2 separate regions of the Homo sapiens genome follow, and region 1 is linked to region 2. Evidence: promoter capture Hi-C in 16 types of primary human blood cells and fetal thymus (Javierre and others, 2016). All regions are on one chromosome and are shown on one strand. The core of a region is centred on a gene start or on the middle of the fragment in contact, and the rest is flanking DNA. Distances in the headings are between cores, read along the strand shown. Region 1 has its middle 7.6 kb from the start of API5. Region 2 holds the start of ALKBH3 (alkB homolog 3, alpha-ketoglutarate dependent dioxygenase).

Region 1 (5,925 bases), core at 736-3,235, 580 kb before region 2:
AGAGTAACTGACAGCGACCAAAGAACATTCATTCTTGAAATATAAATTAATAAGACCTAAAATGGTACAAGGGAAGGAAGCGAACACTGAGCACTTACAATGGGGCAGGCACTGTCCTAAGCACTAGCCTGTATTATTTCATTTAATCCCCACAACAACCCTAGAAGTAGATACTATTCATAATTATGTGAAGCTCCCGTGGCCAGACCCAAATTGGATTAGAGGTTGGAAGTGTCTTGATAAGGAACTGGGAGACTCCACACCTGACTTAGAAATAAACATATTTAAATAACAGGCAGTTTAGTAGATAGAGGTGCAGCCATCAGAGCCAGACTACCTGGATATGAACCCAAGAACTTCTCACCAGCTGTGTGGCCCTGGTGACAGGGTCGCATAAAGTTACATAACCTTACATTAAGTTATTGTGAACATCATTTGAGCTGAAACATCGAAAGCACTTAGCACAAAGCCTGACAGATAGCAGTTATTCCACAGGGTTCAGCTATTACTGTAACACACATGCTATTATGCACACAGTTAACACTTAATGTATATCTGCTATGATTATCATCATTAGTTGGTTTAAGACCTAGGTAGACCTTAATTTGGAAATCTTTCTTGGTTTCTTCCAGAGAGCCATGATCTCTTTTCTGTTAGAATTAAAAAGACCTCCTTGGAAGACGGAAATTTAAAATAAAAGCTCTCAGAATGTAGGCAAAAGATGGAGCCAAAATATAAGGCATACAAACTACTGACAGAGGCCAGGCACAGTGGCTCATACCTATAATCCCAGAACTTTGGGAGGCCAAGGTGGGCATATCACCTGAGGTCAGGAGTTCGAGACCGGCATGGCCAACATGGAGAAACCCCCATCTCTACTAAAAATACAAAAATTAGCTGGGCATGGTGACATGTGCCTGTAATCCCAGCTACTCAGGAGGCTGAGGTAGGAGAATCGCTTGATCATGGGAGGTGGAGGTTGCAGTGAGCCAAGATCATGCCACTGCACTCCAGCCTGGGGGACAGAGCAAAACTCCATCTCAAAAAAAAGGAATAAATCCATCAGAAATGTCACACCTCTATATAGCAGCCAATGTTTCCCCAAATAAAAGGTCAGGAGTTTGAGACCAGCCTGACCAACATGACAAAACCCCACCTCTACTAAAAATACAAAAACTAGCTGGGCATGGTGGCACACACCTGTAATCCCAGCTACTTGGGAGGCTGAGGAATGGGAATGGCTTGAACTTGGGAGGCAGATGTTGCATCAAGCCAGGATAGCACCACTTCACTCTAGCCTGGGCAACCGAGTGAGAGAGTGAGAACTGTCACCAAAAAAAAAAAAAAAAAAAAGTACTGGAAGTACTGGCAGGGGAGGAGGTGGTCCTTTAAGCTTTTCAACTAATATTTAATAGACAAACCCAATTTTAAAGTTACAAAATAAATAAATGTAAAGATAGTCACAGCCCTCAAAATGTCAAAATATACTGGGGCAAAAGTCAGTGATGTTAGGTAGGTAGGTGGGATAATGGGAGGTTAGGAAAAGGAGATAATGGTTTTCCTAAAAATAAATTAATAAAAAGAAAACAAAGTTAAAAAAAATCTTACTGCCAAGAAATCAGTAGAAGCTTTTGTCATACTACAATAAACTGTTGTTGGAAAACTTGTTTTTTAGTTTATTCTTTCATTTATTTAACACTTATTAAACATCTAATAAGTAGTTCCTGATCAAGTTTTATTATCCAGTGGAGCTGTATACAGACAACAGAAATACAAAGTAGGAAGATTTGAGTGTCACAGAGAAGCAACAAAAACGAAGAGATGCGCTAGGCACAGTGACTCACACCTGCAATCCCAACACCTGGGGAGGCCAGGCAGGAGGAAGGCTTGAGACCAGGAGTTCAAGACCAGCCTAGGCAAAATAGTGAGACTCTGTACAAAAAATTTAAAAATTAGCTGGGCAAGGTAACACACACCTATAGTCCCAGCTACTTGAGAGGCTAAGGCAGGAGGATTGCTTGAGCCCAGGGGGGTAAGGCTGCAGTGAGCTGTGATCATGCCACTGCACTCCAGCCTAGGTGACAGAGCGAGAAAAAAAAAAAAGGAAGAGATGTTCACTGTGGATTTCCAGGGCAAGCACTAAACCAGATAAGCACCTAGATCTCTTCTAGACTCTGTAAGGCTAATTCCAGACTGTCATCAGTCACATACCACAGCTTCCGTATATGAAGCCTTTCTATTGCCTGGTTTTATTCTATACTGATGTTATTGCTTTACTTGAGTAAACCAAATATATTTTACTCATGTATTTTGTTTATTGTTTTTCTGCCTCTGCCAGAATGTAAGCTTCCTGCTTGCTTGGCTTGGTTGCATTCTAAAACAGTGCTTGGCTCGTAGGAAATGTTCAATACGTACTTGAATGATGAACCAAAACACAATCTCTACTCAGGCACTCAGCTTTACAGAATGAAATCCAGATGGTCCTCAAACGTACCCATTGACACAGAATGTTATCTGTTTGTGCTGCTTTAACAAAATACCTGAGACTGGGTGATCTATAAGTAATAGCATTTTGTTTCTCACAGTTCTGGAGGCTGAGAAGTCCAAGATCAAGGGCTAGCAGGTTTGGTGCCTGGTGAGGGCTACTCTCTCTGCTTCAAGACATCACCTTATTGTTGTGTCCTCATGTGGCAGAAGGACAGAAAGGCAACAAGGGCTAAATGCTGTGTGAAGCCCCTTTTATAAAGGCCTTACTCCCATTTAAGAGAGAAGAGCCAGCCAGGCATGGCAGCTCATGCCTATAATCCCAATACTTTGGGAGGCCGAGGCAGGCAGATCACCTGCGGTCAGGAGACCAGACTGACCAACATGGACCCCATCTCTACTAAAAATACAAAATTAGCCAGGCATGGTGGTGCATGCCTGTAACCCCAGCTATTCGGGAGGCTGAGGCAGGAGAATCACTTGAACCCGGGAGGCGGAGGTTGTGGTGAGCCGAGATGGTGCCACTGCACTCCAGCCTGGGCAACAAGAGCGAAACTCCATCTCAAAAAAGGAAAAAAAAAAAAGAGGGAAGAGCCCTCACGACCTAATCACTTCCTAAAGGATCCACCTATTAATACTATTGTTTGGAGATTAAGTTCCAAGAGGGGACAGAAACATTCAAACCATAGCAGATGCTACAGAAATGCCCTTACAAGGAAATCAACACCTGCCTCGCCTCCTCATTTTCTAGGAACAGTCCCACACTCCTCTATCAGTAGCTATGGGCCCCTGGCAGCAATGTTTGCTTTGTATGATCTTGCTTTCCTGGTCTAAATTGATTGGGTGGAATAGACATGTGACCTAAGGTTAGCCAATCCAATTCTCTTTTCTGGGATTGAATTTTGCCTTTGTAAGAATAGAGAAAGTTTGACAACATGACCTCTAAACTCCTTCAGAGATCCAATGAAAAGGAAGGAGAATCTGTATAAAATTACAAAAGTCATTGTAGAAAATCTGGACAATACAGTAAAGCACAAAGAAGAAAATAAAAATCACCTATTTATCAGTGTAATAATGAAAAATGAGGGACAACTGACATATCCTATAAGAAACAGAGAAACTATTAATAAACTATGGTACATCCATAATAGGCAGTGGCCAGAAGTGGTGGCTCACACCTGTAATCCCAGCACTTTGGGAGGCTGAGGTGGGTGGATCACCTGAGGTCAGGAGTTCAAGACCAGCCTGGCCAATATGGTGAAACCTCATCTCTACTAAAAATACAAAAATTAGAGGCCGGGCGCAGTGGCTCACACCTGTAATCTCAGCACTTTAGGGAGGCAGAAGCAGGCAGATCATGAGGTCAGGAGATGGAGACCATCCTGGCTAACACGGTGAAACCCCATCTCTACTAAAAATACAAAAAATTAGCCGGGTGTGGCGGCACGCGCCTGTAATCCCAGCTACTTGGGAGGCTGAGGCAGGAGAATCACTTGAACCCAGGAGGCAGAGGTTGCAGTGAGCCGAGATCACACCACTGCACTCCAGCCTGGGCGACAGAGTGAGACTCCCGTCTCAAAAAAACAAAACAAAACAAAACAAAAAATTAGCTGGGCATGGTAGCAGGCACCTGTAATCCCAGCTACTCTGAAGGCTGAGGCAGGAGAATGGCTTGAACCCAGGAGGCAGAGGTTGCAGTGAGCCGAGATCACGCCATTGCACTCCAGCCTGGGTGACAAGAGTGAAACTCCATCTAAAAATAATAATAATAATAATAATAGGCAGTAAGCTCAGGGAAAGATTTACAAAACATATTGTTAACAAAAGCAAGGTGTAGAACAAAATGTGTAATGTGCTCCCATTTATGTATTTTTAGACCCATGTGTTGTATATAAAGGCCTATAAGAATATAAATTATATTGGTAGTCATAGTTACCTCTGAGGAAGGGAGAGTTGAAGAGGAACTTTTGCTTATTACATGAAACATTTTGTAGTACTTGGATGTATTATGATGATACTGTATTCTTACAGTTACTTGTTTAATTAAAGAAAAATGGAAAAATTATAAAAAGATACTTTATAAGAAGTAGAATTGACTAACATTGGAGATAAGGAAACCATTTAGGAACTGTGGCCATTGTTCAGATTTGAGGGGATAGGGTCTGACATGGGACAGAAGGAAGAGTGAGAAACACATAAATGTGTGATAGATTTAGGGTATAAAATTGAGACTTCTTATTGATTGAATGTAGTGTGAAAAGGAGGAGGAGAGAATGTTCAGGCTGAGAGGCAAAGCACTTCCACAGCAAAGTGTTGCCTTTTTGGCAAGGCATGGTGGCTCACATCTTTAATCGCAACACTTTGAAAGCCCAAGTTGGTGGCGGGTGTGGAGGCTCATGCCTGTAATCCCAGCACTTTGGGAGTTCGAGATGGGTGGATCACGAGGTCAAGAGATTGAGATCATCCTGGCCAACATGGTGAAACCCCATCTCTACTAAAAATACAAAAATTAGCTGGGCATGATGGCATGCACCTGTAGTCCCAGCTACTCCGGAGGCTAAGGCAGGAGAATTGCTTGAACCTGGAAGGCAGAGGTTGCAGTGAGCTGAGATCGTGCCACTGCACTCCAGGCTGGTGATAGAGTAAGACAAGAAAGAGAGAGAGAGAGAGAGAGAGAGAGAGAGAGAGAGAGAAAGGAAGGAAGGAAGGAAAGAAGGAAGGAAGGAAGGAGAGAGGAAGGAAGGAAAGAGAGAGAGAGAAAGAAGGAAAGAAAGAAAGAAAAGGGAGGGAGGGAAAGAAGGGAGGGAGGGAAAGAAGGGAGGGAGGGAAAGAAGGGAGGGAGGGAAAGAAGGGAGGGAGGGAAAGAAGGGAGGGAGGGAAAGAAAGAAAGAAAGAAAGAAAGAAAGAAAAGAAAGAAAGAAAGAAAAAGAAAGAAAGAAAGAAAGAAAAAGAAAGAAAGAAAGAAAAAGAAAGAAAAGAAGCCAAGTTGGGAGGATGGCTTGAGCCTGGGAGATTGAGGCTGCAGTGAGCCATGACTGCACCACTGCACTCTAGCCTGGGTGACAGAGGGAGACCCTGTCTCAACAACAACAACAACAACAACAACAAAAAAGCATGGGTTTTGGAATTAGGCTGCCAGGACTCAAAACTCATCTCAGTTAAGGAACATGGGACCAGTTAGTTCACGTCTCTGTGTCTGTTTCCTCATTTGTAAAGTGGAAATGATAATATTATCTCCTGGCTCATAGAGTTTTTGAGAATTGATTCACATGAAGTGCTCAGAACTCTGCCATCACTTAATATACGCTGGTTATTATTGGGATGACTCCCAATATCATTACCATCAGCATCGTCATCGATTTTGTCATCATTATGATCATTAGGACCAATTGTAGGCCTTTAGCTTAAATGACCAGCTAGAAATACATAAAAATAGGAAAC
Region 2 (5,894 bases), core at 2,736-5,235:
GGTACACATTTAGTAGAAACTGTACTTCAGTACAGTATTCAATAAATTACATGATATATCAACACTTTATTATAAAACAGGCTTTGCATTAGATTATTTTGCCCAGCTTAGGCTAATGTGAGTGTTCTGAGTATGTTTAGGGCAGGCTAAGCTAAACTGTGATGTTCCATAAGTTGGGTGTAGCAAATGCATTTTGACCTATGATATTTTCAACTTACAATGGGTTTATCAGGATAGAACCCCATCATAAGTCAAGGGAGCATCCATATACATTCAGGAACTGGGGAAGTAGCCACTGGATGGATCTGTGGATGACTGGGTCCATTGTGAGTCAAACTTGAACTAAGATTCCATCTATCACTTGAACATCATTAAGCCCTCACTTTCATTCGTGGGCCATAGAGGTGTTCTAGGTTCCCAGGAATTAGTTAAGAGCCATTGCCCAGTAAACCCTAAAATACCTGGGTACTTACTTTTCCCCAGTGTGTAACCATTTGAGTAAATGGCTGCATTCACTTGGATGAAGACTTGGGCCGGGCGCGGTGGCTCATGCCTGTAATCTCAGCACTTTGGGAGGCCGAGGTGGGTGGATCACAAGGTCAGATCGAGACCATCCTGGCTAACATGGTGAAATCCCATCTCTACTAAAAATACAAAAAATTAGCCGAGCGTGGTGGCAGGCAGCTACTCGGGAGGCTGAGGCAGGAGAATGGCATGAATCCAGGAGGCGGAGCTGGTAGTGAGCCGAGACCACGCCACTGCTCTCAGCTTGGGTGATAGAGCGAGACTCTGTCTCAAAAAAAAGACTTGGAGGAAAATTTACAGTATATACTTGTGACAATGGTGCAGGGTCCTTCCTCCAAGAGATGTGGCTTCCCTGTCAATCAAGAGGTTTGGGGTCGTGATATGACTTGTCTGGAAACTAGGTGAGAGATATGTCTATCCAGTGTGGCCAGGTAAGGTTTTTGGCTACTAGACATAGACTTTTTTTCTGTTAGATAGATCAAACAATTCTCTAGTAGGCTGCCCATCTGTTTCATTCCTAGGGACACCATGGCCACTACCAAAGATCCTTATAGACCAACATATTCTGATTACTGGTATGTCCTGGCTTCTGTATTGGATCAATGTCCTTACCTTTAATAATTAAGTGCTGCCACTTGGCCTCATCATCTCCAGTAAAACCAGGGGACCCAACTCAATGGTGGCATCTTCCATGATCACACCTGGCCTGCAAAGGAGAGCAACCACAGAGCTTTCCAAGGATGCAAGTGCTCCCTTGTCTAAAGTATTTCTCAATGCTTTAGAAAAAGGAGCATCTTCTGGATCTTGTTGTAGGATATAGTTTTTGTGTTTGTGTCTATTGCACGTGGGTCAGGGTCACATTTGATAAATTCAGTCCAACATTTCTACCCTTCTCAGTCTTTGGGTTCCCGCCTCTACATCGTGCCTTGGCATCTCAGTAGGATTAACCATAGACTACTGTTGAGTTAAATCTTCAATAAATCCACCAAATAAGCTGTTAGAGTCATTTCCAGTTGCATGAGTCAACACAATGTCTGTAAATGCACTCTAGTAAATGCCTCCATATAATTGGCCTGATATAGTACTATATACTGCCCTCCTTAGTTTAAAACAGTTAGAATCCACTTCCACACATTCCATACATTAGCAAAGTACGTGTAATTAGTATAGTTCTTTCAGCGTGCAAGCTGTTTTATCCTAGATCATAGTGTGTAGCAGCCTACCTGGAGCATTAATGAGGTTTGAACCTAGTTAGGGTCTAGTGGCAATGAGGCAGAAGAAGGGGAAGTAAATTCTGCTGGGTCTTGTAGAGAATGAGCTTCCCTTTTGAAGTCATCTGCCCCAGCTGAGGGCTTAGCAGTGTCTTCAAGCAAAGAATGACTAGTCTCCTCAGACTTAGGAGGACAAGCTACTTCCACTGCCAAGGAAGGCTCAGGGTGCCATGGGTGTTCAAGACTGTCAGTTATCTGGGTCTAAGCAGAGTGCTTATTTCAAATTTTGGGATTCCATTCCTTCCCAATTGATGCCTTAACTTTCAGAAGAGAAACTAACCTGGTAATTCAGCCCACAGGGAGTAGTCAAACACTGTGGGCCACTGTGCACTAAAGAGCCAGCTGAGAGGAGCACACTGGAACCAGAAAAAAGAGCCCCTTCCTCCTCTAAAGTTCCTCCAGTACCCTCCACTGATGAAGCTCACTGTCCATTGAACCAAAAGGCAAGGGAGAAACCTTCCAATATTGCAAACAGGGTAGTGAAGGGTGGGTTTGGAATGGAGACTCAATAGGTTGATAATTGGCAACACACTTCGCCTTCATTCCTTCTCCCATGGTCTCTACCACCACCTCCTGATAAAAACTCAAACACTTCAAATAGAAATAAGAAAGTCAAGACCCTAATGAGGATGCCAAGACCATTAAGAACATCTAATACTATATACTCGCATCGTCTAGGGTAACCAACCATCTCAGTTTGCCCAGGACTGTCCTGGCTTTAGCACTTAAAGTCCTGTGTCTTGGGAAACTCCTCAGGCCCATACAAACCAGAACAATTTGTCATCCTACATATGTCCTAGAGGTTTTCAAAATTTTTGTGCACCAGAATCACTTGGGTGCTTGTTAAAAACGCAGGTGATTCTGTTAAACAAAAAAAAAGCAGTAATTTCAGATGCAAGTAAATCATGGATTGATCTTTGAGAAATACACTACGTAGAGGCTGAAGAGGTGTCAATCACTACTTTTAGGAACTCCTCAATCCAGACTTCTTTGTTCCTGTTCCAAAACTATAATCATTGAAAAGAAAGAAATAACATATTTTAGAAGATACAGCCAAAGTTCCTGAGCCAGAAGCAGACATTGACAAATTAGTTGATGGGGGAAAAAAACTGTAGTGTGGCCTTAGCATTTTCTCTCCTTTCAGGTCTAGGATAAATCATTTTTTTCCTTCAGTGTCACAAAGTATAACAAATAATAATGAGTGCTGTGAAAATGGATTTGATAGTAGCAACAATATAGGTACACATTGATGAGGTGTACCTATAATGAGCTTCCTGAAGGTAAACACTCATATCAGGCTTATTTTAAAGATTTCCACAGTGACTATACTTTGGCGGATCTTAGAGAATGACTTGCATAAAACAGTCAATTCAGTGCTACTTTTGCTATTTTCATACTGTAAAGTACATGGTTTAACATGACCATTTTAAAGATGTTTCTCATGAGCTCAAATGGGGTGAGCTCTTTTTCATTTTTTGAGTTTTTGTTGTGTTCCAGGCATTGTGCTATATTCTTTAAATGCATTATCTCACTTAATCCTCCCAAAAAGAGCGATACCCATTTTAAAAAGAGGCAGAGTACTTGCCCTAGATTATACAACTAGTAAGTGGTGGTGTCTGGGCCAAAATGTAGGTCTGTTCACTCAAGCAAATTTGCTTAGCACTGGAGAGAGCCAAGGTGAATTAAGGCGTGGTCCTACGCCCTGCTGTAAATGCTGTGTTCGGAGGTGTGCACAGGCTGCAATAGGAACACAAAGGAGGCTCATTTCAGGCTCTCCGTGGTTTTTAGGATAAAATGCAAATCCTTTTGCCTAACACATTATAACCAGGTCCCCCAAACTCCTCTCCCTTTATCTAGTCCCACAGGGACCCGGTCACTCTTTCTGCCACAAAGATGCCGATGCTTGGACATCTCCAGTTTCGAGGAACTCACGTAGGAGACACGCCTTCACTTCCACCTTTGCCAAACCCCGACCCCTTCACACCGCTCCCCTGCACTCTCAATCCCTGTCCGCTGCAACACATATCCCCTCATCAGCACCTTCGGTGATTAGGCCCTCCAGGCGCGGGGGATGTGGGACTACCCGGACTGAGGACTGCGCACCGGAAGTAGTGGCGGCGCTGCGTAACGTCGAGAGGAAGTGCCTGATGCCGCGGCCTGTGATTGGGAGTTGCTGGAGTCGGTGCTTCACTCTTAAGGTTCCGATCACAGACTGCGGAGTGGGTCAGGGGCTGCGAGGGCTGCCCCAAGTCCTACCGGGTTTGCACGGGCGCGCCCGGCTCCGCCCGCAAGTGCGCCTTCCTGACTTACTGCTGGGTGCGCGGGGCTGGGGGTGCGAGTACCACCCCTGAAGTCTCTTCCTGGGCGACCTCCGGGGCCTCATTCTAGGCCTCCTTAAAGAGAAGGATCTAAATTAGGAAAAGGAAGTGCCCTTATCCACGACCAAGCTCTTCCACCTGCGGAGCTCGCTTAGTCTGCACCTCAACCGTGCGGAAAGTGACTGCCCTGTTTACTGAGGAAAAACTGGGGCTCAGAAAGGTGAAGTCATTTGCCATGGGCCATGCAGCTGGGAAGTGACAGATCTGGATTCAAAGCGAGTTCTGGCTGGCGCCAGAGTCCTTGTATTTTACAGCACTGGTTCTCAAGCTTTATGTGCATTAAGAATTCCTGGGTTGAGGGTGGCGTTAGTTAACAAATTCTGGGACTCTACAAATTGAGTAGATCTGGGATGGGGCTCTGGAATCTATTTTCAACAATTGTTCCCTGGCAAATAACATATGGCTCCCCAGTGAATGGAGCAAGAAGGTGAGCAAGTCGTATCCTCTGCGGGGACTGTAGGTAATTGTGTTACGCTTTTAGGGCCTCAATTGAGAGAACATGTCAAACGGGAGCTCCTGGGATTGGAGAATTGGTATTTGATTGTCATTAACTCTTCTGGGCAGATGGCAGCCTCTGCGTCTCTCCACCTATTAAATGAAATGAATTACATGCTTATCATCTGGGGGAACTTGTTAAACACACAGATTCCTGGGCCTGGCTCAGCTCTACTGAATCAGAAGAGGTGGGAGATGGGACCTGGGAATCTATAGTCTAAGCAAGCTATTAATATAAAACGAGCTTTTACCTTTGAGAACTTGAGGTGTGAAGCTTTCTTAGGTAGAAGCATAAAGAAATAGATTACAGATGTGGAACATGTGGCTTGAATTTCCTTGTTGTTTTGGTAGCTGTACGTGCTTCTGCATTTGCTGTAGGCTAAGCTTTTACTGGTACAACTGTCAAATTAGTATTATTAGCCATTATGAGGTGGATTTATCCGTTAGCTGGAGACAGGAGTTTAATATAAGTTGAATGTTAATCTGTCTGTTGTTGATTTCCTGAGTGGCTTTGGGTGCATCATTGAACTTTACCGTCCACATACATACCTGCATTGTGTCAAATCTTACACTGCTTGTTATAAAGACAAATACCTGTATCCATCCTAAATCAGATTTTCTGAAGGTGGGCCATAGGTATTTTGAACAAACTTCCAGGGAAGTTTGATGCAGCCAGTGATAATGGAATATATGCTTGGAAACAGTCTTAGCCGATTTCTCAATGTCCATGTAGGTGAAAATGGGAATAGTACAGTTTCCTTATATTCTACTCTTGGGGACTATTAAGAGGAATGTGGTTTATAATAGGTCCTAATTTTAGAATTTCTTAAAATGCACTTTCTTGTGAAAGAAACAAAAGTACTATGGTAAGATTACAAAAGGTGAATGCTAAAGCCAGCAGCCCCAAATGACTAGGCTTCTTGAATGAAATGTTGTGATGACATAAACTGATTTTACATGGAAGCTCTATTGCCATTGAGAGTCTTCTGCCTGAAATTAATTATGCCTTAGGAGTAATTGTTCACAATCCTAACTAAAAGCACTGTTTTGTTTTGTTTTAATAAACAGATACCATGGAGTAGTTTGAAACAGGAACAAAATCTTCTGAAAGCTCGGAGCAGAAGCCTTTTTGGTCAACATGGAGGAAAAAAGACGGCGAGCCCGAGTTCAGGGAGCCTGGGCTGCCCCTGTTAAAAGCCAGGCCATTGCTCAGCCAGGCAAGAAT

The links. The method cuts DNA at HindIII sites, captures the fragments that hold promoters and counts their contacts. A CHiCAGO score of 5 or more calls a contact.
Region 1: a fragment that was not itself captured here is called in contact with the fragment with the promoter of ALKBH3 in region 2 in 4 of 17 cell types (non-activated CD4 T cells, naive B cells, total CD4 T cells and 1 more); the score reaches 7.1 in non-activated CD4 T cells.

The regions. Positions count from the first base shown.
Region 1 is chr11:43,301,419-43,307,343 of GRCh38, forward strand. No RefSeq gene overlaps it. Among named protein-coding and RNA genes, the nearest start is that of API5, 7.6 kb to the right of the region's middle. The HindIII fragment of the contact is 718 bases long and covers 1,627-2,344 here.
Region 2 is chr11:43,876,846-43,882,739 of GRCh38, forward strand. ALKBH3 (alkB homolog 3, alpha-ketoglutarate dependent dioxygenase) reads left to right here and starts at 3,986. Exons shown (of 10, transcript NM_139178.4): 1 at 3,986-4,334; 2 at 5,738-5,886. The coding sequence starts at 5,808. LOC105376644 (a long non-coding RNA gene) reads right to left here and starts at 3,892. Exons shown (of 3, transcript XR_001748200.2): 1 at 3,837-3,892; 2 at 1,138-1,231. RefSeq lists an enhancer at 3,772-3,971. The HindIII fragment of the contact is 7,136 bases long and covers 1-4,440 here.